Regions from separate parts of the Homo sapiens genome. Here region 2 is linked to region 1. The links are contacts of gene promoters, found by promoter capture Hi-C in blood cells and fetal thymus (Javierre and others, 2016). All regions are on one chromosome and are shown on one strand. The core of a region is centred on a gene start or on the middle of the fragment in contact, and the rest is flanking DNA. Distances in the headings are between cores, read along the strand shown.

The links. Contacts are between HindIII fragments. The CHiCAGO score rates a contact against its expected background, and 5 or more counts as called.
Region 2: a contact is called between a fragment that was not itself captured here and the fragment with the promoter of CPOX in region 1, in 6 of 17 cell types (activated CD4 T cells, total CD4 T cells, naive CD8 T cells and 3 more). The highest score is 9.1, in activated CD4 T cells.

What each region holds. Positions count from the first base shown.
Region 1 is chr3:98,591,400-98,596,963 of GRCh38, forward strand. CPOX (coproporphyrinogen oxidase) reads right to left here and starts at 2,212. Exons shown (of 7, transcript NM_000097.7): 1 at 1,550-2,212. The coding sequence starts at 2,105. RefSeq lists a silencer at 1,751-2,200 and an enhancer at 2,701-2,750. The HindIII fragment of the contact is 5,536 bases long and covers 1,252-5,564 here.
Region 2 is chr3:98,048,700-98,054,288 of GRCh38, forward strand. It overlaps the pseudogene OR5BM1P. Among named protein-coding and RNA genes, the nearest start is that of GABRR3, 16 kb to the left of the region's middle. The HindIII fragment of the contact is 1,003 bases long and covers 3,739-4,741 here.

The DNA.
Region 1 (5,564 bases), core at 962-3,461:
CTAAAATAAATCACTGGAATATTCTCCCTTCAGATTCTACTGTTCAGAATGGCATCTATCAGTTATGATATATGAGAGAAAGCTAAGGTTAAAAATAGGAATGGGTAGACTTGAAGGGTGTTCTATTATTACTGAATTTAAGAGATCTATATTGTTTCAAAAATTTCTTTCTCAGTGGGCTGCTTGCCTTTTAATTTACAAGCAATTAAGAAACAGTAGGTAATCAAATTCTGAAGGGATTCAGAACCTTAGAGTGAGTGAGACGCACATTAGTATTCACGTGTATCAGCCTTACTAATTTTTTTTCTTAAGGTATTAGGGTCACTGCAAGGGCAATGTTTCATGAAAGTTCATGTTTGGCTTGTTTTATTTCTAAGAACATTTAGAGCTGGATGGGACATAAGATGATCCAGTACAACCCTCATATATTCCAAATGAGAAAACTGAGGACCAGAGGGGCAAAACATCTTATCCAAGATCAAACTGCTGACAAGTGGCTGCAACAATTTGTCTAAATGCTGTCTATGCTTCAGACAATATTCTAAGCACTTCACATATATTCCATCCATATATATATATATATATGTATATGGATATATATATATATATATGTAGTATGAGGATTAAAAGAGATGAAATACATATATATTTCATAGATGGGAAAACAGCCATAAAAAAGTAACTTCTGAGGATCACACAGCTGGTCTAGTACTTGAGGTTGTGTCCTGGTTCAGTGGTCTTTGCTTGAAAACATAAGATGGAAAACTAGACTGAACTTCATTTAATATAGATGTGTCAGTATCACAGCTCAAAATCTGCCGGTGAGAAGCTGCTGTTGTATTTCCAGCTAGGAAAAGTCAGGAATCTTTCAAGTTTCCACTCAAGATGTGGGGTTTCACTGTATGGGCAACAACATGGTCATGAATGTACGCCTCTACGAGAACTGGGTTTTGATGCTCAAGTATTTTGATATTGGAAGAGAAGATTTTCCTAGCAGGAAATCTGATGCGTGCATTTGGTAGTGCTACTGAGAAACGAATCAAATATATCTTGTGTAACAGTAAAAAGAAGTGGGAAGATTCTGACACAATGACATCCTGGCTGGAGGAGTTTAGCCGACACTTAGCGCACAGGAGATGAGTTCTTTCCATCTCCTAAAGAGGAAAAAGGGCAAATTCACCCAGAGAAGGAGAGAAAATGTGTTCCATAATCTATTGAAATTTATGTTCAGTAACGAACTTTGGACATCTAAGCTTGTTAGCTGCAAATACCCCTTAAGAGTTCTACAAAAAAATGCTGCTACGGAATTGCAAAGATTTTGAAATGCAGTACTACAGTGACAGCTGATCCGGGTCCATACCTGCAAGCAGAGGGCTAGTGACCCTTTCGTGTCCATCTTTTTATCAGCGGCCTCTAACCAAGCGGCCTCTCTGTGGGTACCCCCTACCTACCCCATCCCATATTGTGAACTATTATATTTTCTGTCTGCAACCTGGAACCTGACCCTTTTTCCCTGTCTCCAACTCCCGCCAGGGGCCGGCCTCCTTACCTTCCTTCCTCTCCCACCGGTCCACAGAAAAGTTGGCGCCCCCGTCTACCTGTGCCAGAGCCTGGCACACCTGGGCCTGGGTCTCCAGAATCAGCAGCTCCATCTTGGTCTTCATGTCGCCCGGCCTCCTTCGCAGCTCGCCCAGGTCGGTCACAGGCGGGGCCATGAAGCTGCTGCAGCGGTGGGCCAGCTCATCCTCCTCCTCCTCCGGCCTCCCCAGCGAAGTGGCCCGCGTCCCCGAGGTCTTAGGCAACATCTCCGCCCGCTGCACATGCCCGAAGGCGGCGGTGGCCAGCCCCACCAACCCCGCCAGCGCCGCGGCCAGCCCTGTCCCCACCCAGGGGCCGCCTCTCGACGTCGAGCCGTGCCCCAGCCCGCGGCTCTGCTCCGTGCCAGCCGGGCCAGGGGGCCGGCAGACGCGTCCGGCTGCGCTGCGCTGGGACCAGGCTCGGAGCCCTCCGCCGCCGCACTGGGACCAGGCGCGGGGCCCTCCGCAGCCGCCCCGCGCCACGAGCCAGCAGGGGCCCGAGCTCAGCCTGCCCAGCTGCAAGGCCATGTTCCCGCACTATCACCTGGAGCAGTGCCTGCGTCCCAGAGCCCTGCGTTTGAGCCCCCCACCCAGACCCCCGGAGTATTGAGCCGGCGAGCTGCACAGGCGGAAAGAACCTTTCGAGAAGAGCCGCTGCAGCGTCGGGCTCCGGAGGCGGGGGCGGGAACTGGGGCGCGCTGGGAGCTGTAGTCCGGATCCTATCGCCGCCTGCGGCGTCCCTGCGCGGGGCGGGAGATAAGAATCCGACGCGCCCAGAAGGGCTGGTCCGAAGGGAAGAGAGTGGGGCGGGGACGGTGCTGTGGAAGGGACGGGAGAGATAAAAGAGGCTTTCTTGTCACGTACAACCTCGGGTCGGCTGTTTACTCAGCCAAGGAGAGAAGATAGAGTAGGGCTGGGAGGCTGAGGGCGGACTGGGGCGGAAATGTGGCAGAGATCCCAGTCCCGCTTACATTTTCAAACAGGATTTGCGAATACAGAGCCTGGCTCAGGATCTGTATAGACCCGCCCTTCGCCCTGGGTCCTGGTCCTCTAGAGTTTTTAGAGGGGATGGGCAGGCTGGGAAACTCTTTGCTGAAGGATGGTTTTCTAAAGAGAGTGGGAGAAGCTAGTAATGGACTCGGAAGAGAGTCGAGGAGAAGACTTTCTGTGATCGAGTCCACATCACAGTTCTGTCCTTAAGATTTCCCCAGGCTGGGGCCGGGCGCGGTGGCTCAAGCCTGTAATGCTAGCATTTTGGAAAGCCGAGGCGGTTGGATCACATGAGGTCAGGAGTTCGAGACCAGCCAACATGGTGAAACCCTGTCTCTACTAAAACTACAAAAAAATAGCCGGGCGTGGCGGCGTGCACCTGTAGGCTCAGCTACTCGGGAGGCTGAGGCAGGAGAATCGCTTGAACCCGGGAGGCAGAGGTTGTAGTGAGCCGAGATCGCACCACTGCACTCCAGCCTGGGTGACAGAGTGAGACTCTGTCTCAGAAAAAAAAAAAAAAAAAAAAGGTTTCCCCAGGCCTTGCTTCTATAGTGCCTACTTGATTATTTTAGAAAAAGGAAAAGCAACGTGACTGTTTTGGTTAACCAGTAGAAAATTCCTGACTTGGTGTGTTTTGGTGATTAACAAATAAGAATTTAAAAAATAGTTATTCTACTACTGTAGGGTGCTCCCAAATATTGCTCACGTTTAATACTTACAACAACTGCTACAAACTAGGCAAGGCAAATATCCACACTTCCTCCTACTCTGTCTCCCTTCCCCCACCCTTTAAAGAAATGAGGAAAGAAGCTAATAGATTTGACAGGCAGGTCTTTGTCTCCCCTGTAACCATACCACAGCTCCATGGTTCCTGGACGTAAAAGTGTGAGAACTATTGTCATGGGCTAATTTGTCCCATAAGTCTCCGGGATGATTTTAATTTCTAGTAGTAGATAATAATTTAAGCCACTGGTAGCTTTTCCCACAAGTGTTTTCTTTGTGGCAGGATGCACTGATGGAACTTCAATGGCTTTTGAGTCAGATCAATTGGCATCTTGTCCACACACAACTGTACCTGGCAGCTCTCACTGGGACATGATGTTAGCAAGGTGGGTGTGCTTGCCGAAGCCTCACCACTGAGAATCTGTGAAAAGTAAAGGCTTGGATTGAGAAGTGACTAAGCGACTTTTAGGGAAGAAAAACAATTAGCTTTTGGTCATAGTGCAACCTGCCAGGAGGCCAAGTTAGAAGTGGAGGAAGGGAAATAAGAATTGTCATTGTAGGAAGGGTTGATGGCCTCTACTGGATGCCTGTGATGGGGTTGGGCTGGGCCTGGTGATGATAAATGAACCTCATCAAATGAAAAGGAACCTCCCTGGTACGTTTATTTGTAAGAAACCCCCTCATTATTGCTCTAATTCTGCTAAAAATACCCATAAAGTTAGTAAAGCCCATAAAGTTAGTTAAAGCTAAGTAAGAACAGACTGTTTTGAACATTTGCCCGGTCACAAAGGCTGATCCTGAGCAAATTGCATACTAGATTCCAGGTTTCCATCCCTCTCATCCTTAGCCTCTCTATACGAAGGGCCTCACTCCTTTCTTCCTCTGGTTCCTAGCACCCTCCCTACTGGCAAACTGTTATTCAATGCTTAAGAAAGGCTTCAATAACTTTGTTAGTGTGAGTTTAAATCACCTTTCTGGAGGTTCAAATTGTTCCCAAGTGGGATACTTATATTTAAGTTGTATTTGTCGGTATGGGGGAAGAAAAAAAGACATCACCTATCTAAGTAATTTCTTACATCAGAAAACTAGTTGGGACAAATAAAAAGTTTCTAATAAGTTGTAGAAAGTAAAGTGTAAAGTAGAAGTTCTTGTCTGTTTTTTAGCTTAGTTTCTTGCATTGCTTTCCAACTATTTTTTATGTGACCCTATTGCAAAGATGATTCTGCCTAGCCTTATAGGTATTAGTACATAAACATCATTTTTCAAACTCCACATGCTTCTCAGAATCCTTACGAACTTTTTCCTAAAGCCCTGTTGAACATAACTTATTTTAGGCCTGCTGGTGCATGTTAGAGAGAGTTCTAATGTTTATCCCTCTGGTAGCTTTACTGCCTTCTAACAACACACACACACACACACACACACACACCTAGAATTCTCACTATTTTTACTAAACTATACTATTTTCAACAATTATAAAATTCTGAAAGCCAAAGTTAAGAAATGTATTACCAAATTCACTCAGTTCTGTTGCTTTCAGATAGATACAGAAACTCAGGCTAATTAGTAACAAAATATTGCTGAAAATCTGTGTTTGCCTTGGCATCCTTCTGCCCAACTCATCAGAAATTTTGGTGGGGTGATGGGAGGGGGGTGGTAGGATTACCAAGGAAGTAGAATTTTTAAAATGTTAATTCATTTTTTTCTCCTAGAATTTGTATTTTAAACTTTTAGGTCTATAGTAGCAAATGCTTACATAGATTATTAAAATAATTGGTTCTTAAAGCTGTTTATATTTATAGTCTAAATATCCAATGCAATTTAGTGTTGTCAACTTGCTTTTTCTTTAACTGGTGTAATTTTGAAATTATTTTTTCACAAAGGTATAGATACCATTTCAGGGAGGTTTTATGAAAGGGACTAACTCATGGTACCTATCCTTTCAGTCCCTGTGGCTTCTCCCTAATTCTTCCCTATAGTAATATTGATGTAATGTCTGGAGTTGCAGCAACCATTTTGTGACTAAGACTCTGAAAGTCCCATGTAAAAGTTTGCAGAGCAGTCAGAAAGAAGGAACCTTGGTCCTGATGACATCCATGAGCAAATGCACCAGCACTGGGCCACTAACCTTTGAACTTCTTGTTATATGAGAAAAAATAATTTAAAGAACTGTCTGCCAGGTGTTTTGTTGCAGCTTAAGCCTTTCTGATATAGACTGTTTCCCACCTTGGTTCAAATACCTACCATGGGACCAACCAATAAAAAATAGCCATG
Region 2 (5,589 bases), core at 2,990-5,489, 540 kb before region 1:
GAAGACTCCAGACCACAGTCTACTATATAATACATATGAAGAAATATTCGTTGGCTGAAGGATTAAGCAATTCCAAATAATCTTTCCTTAATACTATGTTAACATTTTGACTACATATAAGAAGGAAGTTGAGCTTTGGGGGACTTGGAGAAGCTGCTGTGAACTTCTGGCAAGGTCAAGGAAATCTAAACAATATTTAGACATTTGTTTTAAATTTCTATTTCTTCTTTTTATGATAAATTTGAAAACATTTTGCCACATTTTTTCTCTTTTTGTTGTTGTGTTAAGGCATGCCAGCTAAAAAATGTAAAGCACGTTATAGAATTTTAAAGTTACCGTTTAAACTCTGCAATGCCATAATTGATTCTGGCAAGGAACATCAAATGATGTTAAAAATCTTAGCTAAAAAATTGATAGGTCAAATGGTATTTCTGGTTCTAGATCCTTGAGGAATCGCCACACTGTCTTCCACAATGGTTGAACTAGTTTACAGTCCCACCACCCGGGCACACGTATACCTATGTAACAAACCTGCATGTTCTGCACACGTATTCCAGAACATAAAGTAAAATAAAAAAAAGAGAAGGTTCTTGAGCTTTGCATTAAAGACATCTAGTTGAACACATATACACATATTTTGTCTGTTCTCTCAAGGTAACAACAACAAAAAAGTATAAACCTACAACAACAAGGAGACTGGGAGGAGAGAGGAGTGTGAGAGGGAGGAAGGAGAGAGAAAAAAATGATGGGGACCTGGATATTCTCAAAGTGCCAAAGTATAATGTAATTAACTACTTGCTATATGTAAGGGACAAATCATAACGCTACAGTAGGAAGATCTGGCTGTTACTGCAATAAACCAGGGATTGGGTTTAGCCTCACTGTTAGTGAGACAGACAGACATTATGTGGTTCCTGATGCAAGGCACTGTGAAGGAATGGCATCTTCTATGTAGCATATTGTTAAAAAATGCTTAATCAAGCCTTTGAATATGATTTTCACTAGGAAAAGAAAAATACAGGAATTAGGAAAACAAGTTAAAGAATGCATATTAATCCAGAATGGGAAACATTTCACCAGACAATTTTATAATTGGCCCAGTCTCTCCAAAATATCATTTTCATTAAAAATTAAAAAAGAAAAGGAAGAGGAAAGAAATGAGACTGTTCTGGGTCAAAAGAGTCTTGATAGAGACAACAAATGCAATGTGATGCTGTAAAAGATAAGAAACAAATGGAGAAATTTGAATATATACTAGTTATAAGATAGTGTTGAGAGAATACTGTTAATTTTGTCAGATGTCAGTATGGTACCGTGGTTAGGAAGGAAAATGTCATTTTTGAAAAGATGCAGCCTGGAGTGTTTAGTTGTGAAATGTCACGATGTCTGTTATTTTCATTAAAATGTTAAATGTTTCTCTTTAAAACATGCTATACCTATAGTTTTTGTCGTTCTAGAAGATGTGCCTCATTTGCTTAACCTAAATCACTATTTTCTGGTCTCCATGACAACTTGCAGATGGCTTGAGTTGGTTGTAAAAGTTATTTTGTGTACAGGGTTAAGTTGTTATTGTCAAGAATTTGGCAAATCAACAGCACATATCTTGATTTTCTCACTCAGAATGCGATTCTCTTACAAAACAGCGTTGCTGCTTTCCTTGTGAATAATTAAAATAAATAACAGAAATAACTGTCTGGGCACAGTGGCGCATGCCTCTAGTCCCAGCACTTTGGGAGGCCGAGACGGTGGGGGATCACCAGAGGTCAGGAGTTCGAGACCAGCCTGGCCAACATGATGAAATGCTATCTCTACTAAAAGTACAAAAATTAGCCTTGGGTGGTGGCTCACACCTGTGGTCCTAGCTACTCAGGAGGCTGAGGCAGGGGAATTGCTTGAACCGAGTAAGCCGAGGTTGCAGTGAGCTGAGATTGCACCACTGCACTCCAGCCTGGGAGACAGAGTGAAATAATTAAAGTCACCACCATTTAATGATTCCTTACCTATCTATCAAGTACAGGGGTGAGGGCTTGACATTCATCTTCTCATTTGATTCTTGCAACAACTTTGTAAGTGCACATTATTAACTTTATTTCACAAGTGAGGAAACCAAGGTTTAGACATTTTAAGTTATTTGACCAAAGTCTCAGAAGCAAAGCCACCAAAACTGCCTTTTCCAAAGTCTGTGCTCTTAATCAGCTTTGCTATTTTTCCTTCCCCATGTCTATAAACAGACGCTCCAATTTTAGTGAATATACCCACAGTGAACCTTGATGACGTTAAACATGGTTTCAATTGTTAAAGTAACTTTCTGATAAATTGCAATATCTGGCATGGAACATGAACTTCCTTTTTTTTTAAAAAAAAAATTATGTTGGCTTTTTTTTTTTACACATTTGCTTTTCCAGATAAATTAGAATTTTCTAGACAAATTACCTCCGTATGATTTTGTATAAAATTATATGAAATTTATGTTTATTTGTGAAAGTTAAGTTTTAATAGATTGAGCTTTCCTATTCAGCCACAATTATGGAATTTTATACATTATGCCGCTTACATATGGGAAAATGCTCAACATCACTAATTATGGGGGAAATGCAAATCAAAACCACAATGCGATACCACCTCACTCCTGCAAGAATAAAGAAAAAAAAATTAATGTTGACGTGGATGTGGTGAAAAGAGAACACTTTTACACTGTTGATGGGAATGCAAACTAATGCAACCACTATGGAAAACAGCGTGAAAATTCCTTAAAAAATTAAAAGTAGGCCGGGCGCGGTGGCTCATGCCTGTAATCCCAGCACTTTTGGAGGTCTAGTGGGGTGGATCACGAGGTCAAGAGATCGAGACCATCCTGGCCAACATGGTGAAACCCTGTCTCCACTAAAAATACAAAAAATTAGCCGGGCGTGGTAGTGGGCGCCTGTAGTCCCAGGTACTCGGGAAGCTGAGGCGGCGTCAACCCAGGAGGCGGAGCTTGCAGAGAGCCGAGATCGCACCACTGCACTCCAGCCTGGGCGACAGAGCAAGACTCCGTCTCAAAAAAAAAAAAAAAAATTAAAAGTAGATCTACCATTTGATCCAGCAATCCCACTGCTAGGTATCTACCCAGAGGAAAAGAAGCCATTATATGAAAAAGATACTTGCACACACATGTTTATAGTAGCACAATTTGCAGGTGCAAAAATGTGGAACCAGCCCAAATGCCCATCAATCAACAAGTGGATAAAGAAAATGTGAGATAGATAGATAGATATAACGGAATACTACTCAGCCATAAGAAAGAATGAAAGAATGGCATTTGCAGCAACCTGGATGGAATTGCAGACTAATATTCTAGGTGAAGTAACTCAGGAATGGAAAACCAAACATTGTATGGTCTCACTTATATGAGGGAGCTAAGCTATGAGGACACAAAGGCATAAGAACGATACATTGGACTTTGGGGACTCGGTGGAAAGTGTTGGTGGTGGCGAGGGATAAAAGACTACACCTCGGGTACAGGTTACAGGCTACACTGCTTGTGTGATGGGTGCACCAAAATCTCAGAAATCACCACTAAAGAACTTATTCATATAACCAAACACCAACTGTTCCCCAAAACCTTTGGAAATAAAAAAAATTAAAAATTAAAAATCCCAATCGTTCTATGTATTTTTACTGTTGTTTTTCACTAACTCTAAAACTTTTCCTTAAATTTTCCATTATTGTGCCTTAATTTTGAGTTAACAAAGCAGAAGCTTTGAGAAAACGAGTTTCAGGCCTGCACAGACTTGGGAAGTGAAGACTTTAGCTACAGTTATACAGAATTGGTGACTAGTTAATAGAAATAAAAATATGTCACGTTGTAACACCTACTGGCTGGCCTTGTCATTAAACCTTAAGAGTTGTAAATCTAATACTTATAAATGTTCCCTTGAATGGTTGTATACTTAGGCCTACTGTTTTATAAGTAGGTAGTTCCTGCTTTAGATCAACAAGGCAGGGATTTGAATATGTAAAACATATTTTATGTCCGGAATTATGCAAAGTTTGTCATTAAAGACATGTATTGATGATACAGACATATTTTTTCACCCTGTGTTTCCACAGGATCTCGTTTAGTTTCCTTTCCATTTACTTTCCAGGCTTGTAAAACTCATGGATACACTTTTAGCTTGAGGCTTTTTCTGCATTGCCTTACCTATGTTTATGTTAGTCATTGCCTATTAATTTGGTTAATCCTTTCTCCCCATTTAATTTGTTATTTAAATAAAATTTATAATTTACTATTTAACTTATCACTTAAATTGAATCCAGATATTCAAAACACTGGCCATTCTTTCTACTATGATGTTTTTGTAATGTTTTATTCCACCTTGACTGTGATAGTCCCGTTTGTAATACCAAGAGGATCAGATCATTTTTTGTTCTAGAAAGATAAAAAAGTTCCTGAAAGAATGAGAAAATACACTTTTGAACCCAAAACAAAGTCTCATTTTCTAAGATTTTGGCATAAAATATACCGTGTACCTTTTGCTCTTAAAACACTTCGTTGTTAATACATTCAATTTTAAGGTACTTATGAGTGGCAGGCTATGGGACTAGTTAGTTCTTGTCTAGAATCTCCTCTATAACCCTCAAGAAATAATATGTATTTTAAAAAAATCTTACCATTTTTTCAGTGTACAATATACAATTTCTTACATTGATCCATTTATTAACTCATTAGTGATTTTGTGGTTTTCACTGCTTTTATACAAGCTTTTGCTTTTATGATCATCATAGTTTCTTATACCCAAGTCCTCTTTGCCTTACTGAAAAAGAATTCTGAGAAGGGCAGAAGCAAAAGCTTCCTCATGTGCAGTGCCCACCTGCTCTCTGTCTCTTTGTTCTATAGCAGTGTCTTCTTCATGTATGGGTGCCCCAGGTCTGGCCCAGATTAACAGTGGAATGAAATGTATTTTCCGTTCTACATGATTATAATTCCTCTGCAGACTCCTTTATTTACAGTATGAAAAACAAAGAAGTTTTAGGTACACTTAGAACAATGATAAAGAAATATTTTTGGAGAACACTTTCATAATTCTTTCCATTTCCTTTCTGTTAAAACAAATCGTAATAATTGTTTCTGTGTTTTACACATAGTAGGGACACAATATGTTAAGTGAATGAATAAAAAAATTTAGACTAAATATTCTTGTCTTAGTTATAAGTTATTCTGATCATTAAAATAGTTAATGAGCATTTAAGGACAAACACCACATTTTTGTTGTTGTTTTAAGTACATACTCAAGGATGAAGTTCAAACTGAAATTATAATGCCACATTACTGTTTTTGTAACATGAATGAAACACAAGAGTTCATTCATTTTACAAAGACTTAGTAACAAGTTTTTGTAACATGAATGAACTACATGAAATACAGACATACATGTTTTAGAACTTACTTGCAGTTATTTAAAGGAAGACCCCACCTATATAATTTAAAAAGTGTTCAAAGTATTCATGCACTTCTAAATAATTCTTGAACAAGGCATTTTTCAAACTTTCTCTTTAGCAGATATTTATAATAATATATCAGAATGTTAATAAAAATAATACTGTTAG